2 separate regions of the Homo sapiens genome follow, and region 2 is linked to region 1. Evidence: promoter capture Hi-C in 16 types of primary human blood cells and fetal thymus (Javierre and others, 2016). All regions are on one chromosome and are shown on one strand. Each heading gives the region's core, a stretch centred on a gene start or on the middle of the fragment in contact. The rest is flanking DNA. Distances are from core to core; before and after follow the strand shown.

What was found. The method cuts DNA at HindIII sites, captures the fragments that hold promoters and counts their contacts. A CHiCAGO score of 5 or more calls a contact.
Region 2: the fragment with the promoter of TUBGCP6 here is called in contact with a fragment that was not itself captured in region 1 in 3 of 17 cell types (endothelial precursors, erythroblasts and M0 macrophages); the score reaches 7.9 in endothelial precursors.

The regions. Positions count from the first base shown.
Region 1 is chr22:49,924,175-49,927,651 of GRCh38, forward strand. CRELD2 (CRELD disulfide isomerase 2) reads left to right here. Exons shown (of 10, transcript NM_024324.5): 8 at 186-281; 9 at 1,243-1,383; 10 at 3,081-3,363. The coding sequence ends at 3,133. Among named protein-coding and RNA genes, the nearest start is that of CRELD2, 7.3 kb to the left of the region's middle. RefSeq lists enhancers at 1,167-1,396, 1,477-1,556, 1,657-1,756, 1,767-1,896. The HindIII fragment of the contact is 8,169 bases long and covers 1-3,477 here.
Region 2 is chr22:50,243,478-50,246,657 of GRCh38, forward strand. TUBGCP6 (tubulin gamma complex component 6) reads right to left here and starts at 1,546. Exons shown (of 25, transcript NM_020461.4): 1 at 242-1,546. The coding sequence starts at 982. HDAC10 (histone deacetylase 10) reads right to left here. Exons shown (of 20, transcript NM_032019.6): 17 at 2,821-2,899; 18 at 2,433-2,615; 19 at 2,198-2,350; 20 at 1,706-2,053. The coding sequence ends at 2,030. RefSeq lists enhancers at 135-1,065, 639-918, 1,329-1,378 and a silencer at 1,849-1,918. The HindIII fragment of the contact is 66,555 bases long and covers 1-3,180 here.

The DNA of each region.
Region 1 (3,477 bases), core at 542-3,041:
GCTGCACAGCAGGACGCGAGTCTGTGCTTTTGCCGGGAGACAGAGACAGATCGTTATAAAGTCACTTGGTGATGAATGAGGAGAAAACCCAAATCCTGGCGGCACCGGTGCCTTGTGCATGTCGGGGTCTGACGGGCACTGGTGCCTTGTGCATGTCGGGGTCTGACGCTGGCTCCCTGTTGCAGAGTGTGACTCCAGCTGTGTGGGCTGCACAGGGGAAGGCCCAGGAAACTGTAAAGAGTGTATCTCTGGCTACGCGAGGGAGCACGGACAGTGTGCAGGTCAGTGACGGGGTCTGTGCTGGACGCTGGTGGACCCTTCCCAAGTGACCATGATGTGAATGGCCCCAGCAGGTACTGCCAGGGATGGGAAGCAGTTGAGACCCGTCCTGCAGACGTGGCTCCCCCAGGGTCACTGTGCACTCGCCCTGAGGTCCACGTGAGACACAGAAGCAGTGGGGGTGGGGGACGGGCTCTGCATGGCCGACCCTGGTGTGGATGGCGCTGCTGCACCAGCCTCTCGCCGGTGGCCTCGTTCCCCAGGTCCACCGCCTCTGCTCTCCCTCCAGCTCCTGGGTGGCGATTGCCCCGAGGCTTAAGTCCAGGCCTGCCATGGTTGTGGGCTGCCTGGGTGAGCCTGGGCGTGGATGGAACCCGGTGGAGAAAGTGGGTTTCCTGGGCAGGCGCCATGGTTCATGCCTGTAATCCAGCACTTTGGGAGGCTGAGGCGGGGGGATCACGAGGTCAGGAGATCGAGACCATCCTGGCTAACACGGTGAAACCCCATCTCTACTAAAAATACAAAAAATTAGTCGGGCGTGGTGGCGGGCGCCTGTAGTCCCAGCTACTCGGGGGGCTGAGGCAGCAGAATGGCGTGAACCCGGGAGGCGGAGCTTGCAGTGAGAGGAGATCGCGCCACCGCACTCCAGCCTGGGCGACAGAGCGAGACTCCGCCTCAAAAAAAAAAAAAAAAGGAAAAGAAAGTGGGCTTCCTGGGCGCATGCTGGCCTTCCGGCCCCACCTGGAGGTCTCTTCTCTGCATTTTCTACCAGTTGAGGGCCCAACTTGGAGACGTGAAATTCTTCCCTCTCGAAGCCTTTCCTGATCTTTGCTCCTTTCTGTAACGTGACGTTTGTCATCGTTGTGCTTTCTTTATGTGAATGAATCTGAATGAATGAATTTCATAATCCGCTGCGCGTCTGCTGAGCAAAGTAATTATTAAAACGGAGTCTTTTCATTTTAGATGTGGACGAGTGCTCACTAGCAGAAAAAACCTGTGTGAGGAAAAACGAAAACTGCTACAATACTCCAGGGAGCTACGTCTGTGTGTGTCCTGACGGCTTCGAAGAAACGGAAGATGCCTGTGTGCCGCCGGCAGAGGCTGGTGAGTGGCACGGCTGCCCTCCACACAGGCTGCCCTCCCCTGGGCCGCAGGGCTTGCACGTAGACTGGCTGCTTGGTCTGAAATCCACACAGATGGTGGCCTTGAGATGGTGAGAGGGGGATTCCCGGAAGACAGGTGCATGACATCTCTGTGTGGGCACGCTTGCGCGAGAGGTACTGGCTTCCTGAGGATGAAGCCCCAGGTTCACAGCTCAAACGGAAGTTCAGGCGATGAAGGGGGAAGTCTCTGAAGCTCAGACCTCAGCGGGCGATGAGCAGAGGAGCAGACGCAGGAGAAGAGGCAGCTAAAGAGCTGGAAAAGTCATCCGGGGAAGCTGCCCAGGGTGCCGCAGAGACAGGGACAGGCAGGAAGTGGTGGAGGGCAAGCGGGTCCCCCACACCTGTTTCCTGGGGCTACCTTACCAAGAACCAGGAACTTAGGGCTCCAGCAACAGAAATGTGCCGCTCACAGGAGCCAGAAGTCAGAGGCCCAGACGCAAGCAGGCTGCTTCCTTGGGAGGCTGGGTGGGCGCGTCTGTTCCGGGCCTCTGTCCTCGCCTGGGGATGCCACCTGCTCCCCGTGTCTTCACGTGGTCTCCATGCGGGTGTCTGTCTCTGTCCAAACCTCCCCTCTTTGTAAGGACACCAGTCACTAATGCCCTCATGTTAACCTGGCCAGTGGTAAAGACCCTATTTCCAAACAAGGTCACAATCACAGGTACTGGGAGTAAAGACTTCAGCGTGTTTTGGGGGACATAAATCTGCCCGTGACAGTCCTCACAGAAGTCTAGAATATAGAGAGTGGGAAAGAAGCAGTGTTCAAGGAGATATTGGCTAAGGGTTTTTCAGAATGAATAAGGCACGATTCAGATTCCAGAAGCTGTTTCCTGAGCAGGACAAATAAAAGCAATTCCACATCTAGAAGCATCGTAGTAAACAGCAACAGCAAGACAGAACTGAGGGGTTAGCAGAGACGGACAGGCCAGAAGACAAGGCTGCCTGCTACCCCCTCGGTCCCCTCTGCCCTGGGCTGGCCCTGCCTCTTGCCCCTCCCTCCCCCCACCCTCGGTCCCCTCTTGCCCCTCCCTCCCACCACCCTGGGTCCCCTCTTGCCCCTCCCTCCCCCCACCCCGGGTCCCCTCTTGCCCCTCCCTCCCCCCCTCTTGCCCCTCCCTCCCCCCACCCCGGGTCCCCTCTTGCCCCTCCCTCCCCCCACCCCGGGTCCCCTCTTGCCCCTCCCTCCCCCCACCCCGGGTCCCCTCTTGCCCCTCCCTCCCCCCCGTCCCCTCATTCTCCTCCCTCCCCCCCACCCTCGGTCCCCTCTTGCCCCTCCCTCCCCGTACCACCCTCAGTCCCCTCTTTCTCCTACCTCCCCCACCCTCGGTCCCCTCTTTCTCCTCCCGCCACAACCATTGTTCAGGCTCCCATTCTGCCAGGCCGCAAGGAACCCCTTGCCGCTCCCAACTCTGCATCCTCCACACCCACGGCAGCGTGGGGGCTCTGAAATGCCGTCTGCCTCATCTCTCATCTGCTTTGTGGGAAACGGGGGTCTCCGAGCTGCCCTTGGATGGCTGCGTCCGGGGCTTTGAGCCAGGACTGGACGGGCAGGCCCTGCACATGCGCTGCTGTCCTGGGAAAGGCCTCATCCCCAGGGCCCTTTGTGCTCAGCCTTGACGACCTATGCTTGTTTTCTGACAGAAGCCACAGAAGGAGAAAGCCCGACACAGCTGCCCTCCCGCGAAGACCTGTAATGTGCCGGACTTACCCTTTAAATTATTCAGAAGGATGTCCCGTGGAAAATGTGGCCCTGAGGATGCCGTCTCCTGCAGTGGACAGCGGCGGGGAGAGGCTGCCTGCTCTCTAACGGTTGATTCTCATTTGTCCCTTAAACAGCTGCATTTCTTGGTTGTTCTTAAACAGACTTGTATATTTTGATACAGTTCTTTGTAATAAAATTGACCATTGTAGGTAATCAGGAGGAGAACGGGCGTGGGTTTGTCTCATTAATCAGGACGGACCTTTACCACTGAGTTTGCACCTGTCCTGCCAGAGCCGGGAGTGACCAGGGCTGCCGAGGTCCGCAGAGGCAGCAGGT
Region 2 (3,180 bases), core at 296-2,795, 320 kb after region 1:
CGTGGTGGCAGGTGCCTGTAATTTCAGCTACTCGGGAGGCTGAGGTACGAGAATTGCTTGAGCCCAGAAAGTGGAGGTTAAGGTGAGCCAAGATCGCGCCACTGCACTCCAGCCTGGGTGACAGAGTGAGACACTGTCTCAAAAAAAAAAAAAAAAAGAAGAAGAAGAAGAAGAAGAAAGGTCACAGGAAGCATTTTCCAAACCCCGAGAGAGATGAAAGAGGAAAAACTAAACATTCTACCTTAATAGCCAGCCCAGAGAGGTCCGCATTGTCTGGCACGGGGGGCAGGCCCAGTCGGACGTCCATGTCATAAGTGCGGCTGTGCACAAGGGCCCCGAAGAGCGAGACCCGGGTGTCTCTCTCGAACCTGTCACCACAAGGGTCACCAAATGAGAAGAGCCCGACGGTGGGCAGGCCAGTGCCTGGAGCAGCCTCCATAACCTGAAGTGTTTCCTGGATCATGCTGTGACACAAACACTCTTCTCTGGAGATCAGAGACTGAACGTCCATCTCAAACACACTCAGGTCGTCGCAATCATAGCCGCTGTACGGAACGTTTCTCCCCACATGCTTGTTGTTAAGGAAGTAGTCTCGTTTTCTCGGCAGAACTTGAGGGGGACCACTCCCTGCCAGCTGAACCAGGAGGTCCAAAACAGACCCCACCTCCAAAAGCGGACAGCAAGGGGCTGCTTCCAGCTCCTCCACAAGCTCCTCCAAACGGTCGGCCTTGGGGCCCAGGCCACCCACTCTCAAGTCAAAGGACAACATGAGGATCTTGTTTCTCGCTGGTAGTTTTGACATGTCAGGCTGCAGCTGTTGAGTCTCATCTTGAAAAAGATTTGTGAAAAGAGCATTGTAGGCCACCTTCTTGAGGCTCCGCTTTGCCCTCTTCCGGTTCACACTGCGCTGGCCCAGGTGAGTCTTGGCAGCCGGCAGGAGGGCCTCACACAGGTCGTCGAACAGCTGCGTGATGCTGGCCATGCCCCTTCTCAGCTCCGGGCCCCCGGCGTGTGGGAAAACACCTCACCCGGGCTTCACTCACGCTCCGGAAGACAGGGAGTGAGAGAGGGTCCGAAGAGGCTGAATGACAGGCGGCCTCTCCAATGCCGAAGCTCAGAACTGGTATTTTTTAAAGGAGGTCTTGCGGTTGCTCTACTCAGAGTAAACACGCCCTGCCCTCCCCAGTCCAAGCACGCTGCCCGGCGCCCGGCAGCCCACCAGAAGCCAGCTCGGCGTTTCTTCTAATTCAGTAGCCCTCAACCTTTAGGGAGTCACAGAACCGTGGCAAAACCGAAGAACGAAACGCGCGCCCGCGCAGTACAGCGGACGAACTCGGCTTTGCACCCGTTCTTCGGGACCCACGAGAGGAGACGGCCAGGAGAGGGTGCCACTCCGAGGGTCGTGGGCAGCGGAGAGTCTGGGGGCTCAGCCGGGTGGGTCCCGGGTTCTGGCCTGCACGTCCACCCGTTCTCCAGGCCTCACCCGTGGAAAGTGCCCACGGCTGCCGCTCTCGCCGCCTCCGTCGCGTCACAGCCGCGCCAGTGTGAAGAGCACTAGGGCGGGCGCGCCGGAAATACGTCACGGGAACGCCGGCAGCGCGTGAAGTTGGTGAGGCCTGGGCCGCGGCATACTTCCGGCCTGAGTCCGGCACCGCGGGTGAGAGACCGAGGCCGAGCGTGCTCAGTAAAGGAGGCAGAGCCAGCGTTTCGTTTGAGCGATGTTTACTAACGGCGCAAGGGCGGGGAGCGAAGCGCAGCGGGGCGCAGGGGCCGGAACGGGACCGAGCGTGGGTTGCATGGGCCTCGATGGGACGGGCCGGGGCGCGATGGGTGGGGCGGGGGCGAGGTGAGGTGAGGGGTGGAGCGGGGGAAGCACGGGTGGGAGAGGGCGGGGCGCGGGGATTGGGAGTGGGCGGGGTTCCGTGCCCCAGAGTCGAGGGAGCCGTGGGCTTGGGGTCCGGATCGCGGCCGCGGGGCGCTGGCGTGCGGTGTCATTTCTGCGGTGTAAATGCTCCCACCTTGGCCGATTTCAAGCCACCAGGTGAGGATGGCACTACAGGAGGAGCCGAGAAGAGGCGCGCAGTTGGCCTCCGGCGCTGGAGCTGGTTCAGGGCACTCCCCTGCCCTGCCCTCCCCACCGATCTGTGCGGCAGAGCCAGGCCCCAGGGCAGGGCCATGCCTCCGCAGTCAGCCTCACCTGCAACATCTTCCACTGAGGCTCCAGCTGCCCTCTCAGGTACATCAGGGCCTGGACGTCCTCTGGGGAGGCCACAGAGGAAGGGCCTAGGCTAGGAGGTGCCTCTCCATTCAGCACCCGGGCCAGGATCCCTGCTAGCTGGGGTGTGGAGTTCTGGACCAGGGGCGAAGACGGAAGCAGTCACTGGTCCTTTCCCTCGTCCCACCCCGCAGCACCTCCACCCTGCCCAGCTTACCTCCTCCAGGAGGGCCAGGACTCGGCCCCCTGCCAGCCCCCGAAGCATTGCAGCCAGGAGTGCAGCGTGGGGGCCCTGCAGGCCATGGCCAGGCCCCAGCGCCACCAGCACCAGGTCAGGCTGGAAGCCATAGGCCAGGGGCAGCACCAAGCCCAAGATGCAGCTCAGGAAACCACCGGTCATCTGTGGGGACAGCAGAGCCCAGCTCCTCATCTACGGACACCTGCTGGCTCTGGCCTCCCAACCTCCCAATCTCAGGGCCCCTGGAGTAGGAGCAGGGAGACAGGAAGGACCAGAGGCCTGCTATCATGACAATGCCAGCAAACAGCAGCTGTACACATCCATGGGCTCCCCAGCACCTGCCTTGCCGCGTGGCATGGTCACTCACCACTGGCAGTGGCGTGGAGACATGGAACATGGATAGGGCAGCCGCCTCCTTGCCCCTGATGTTCAGCCACAGACTCCTCCTTCCAGGACACAGGTGCATAAGTGTAAGGCCCTGCTCACCCTCCTGAGCCCAAACCGCAGAGGCAGAGGTGGAAGAGCATTCACGGGGCCATGGGCAGGGGTGCTGTGACTGCTGAGCCTCTGTGCTGGAGACCCACCTGGCATTGCCTCCAGCAGCCCTTCTCCCACACCCCAGCTGAGGAAGGCTCCATTCAGTACCACACAGTGCCCCACCCACCCGTCACCCTGGGGCCCAGGCACACGTCCATCACATGCCCGTCCACATGCATGGCTGGACATA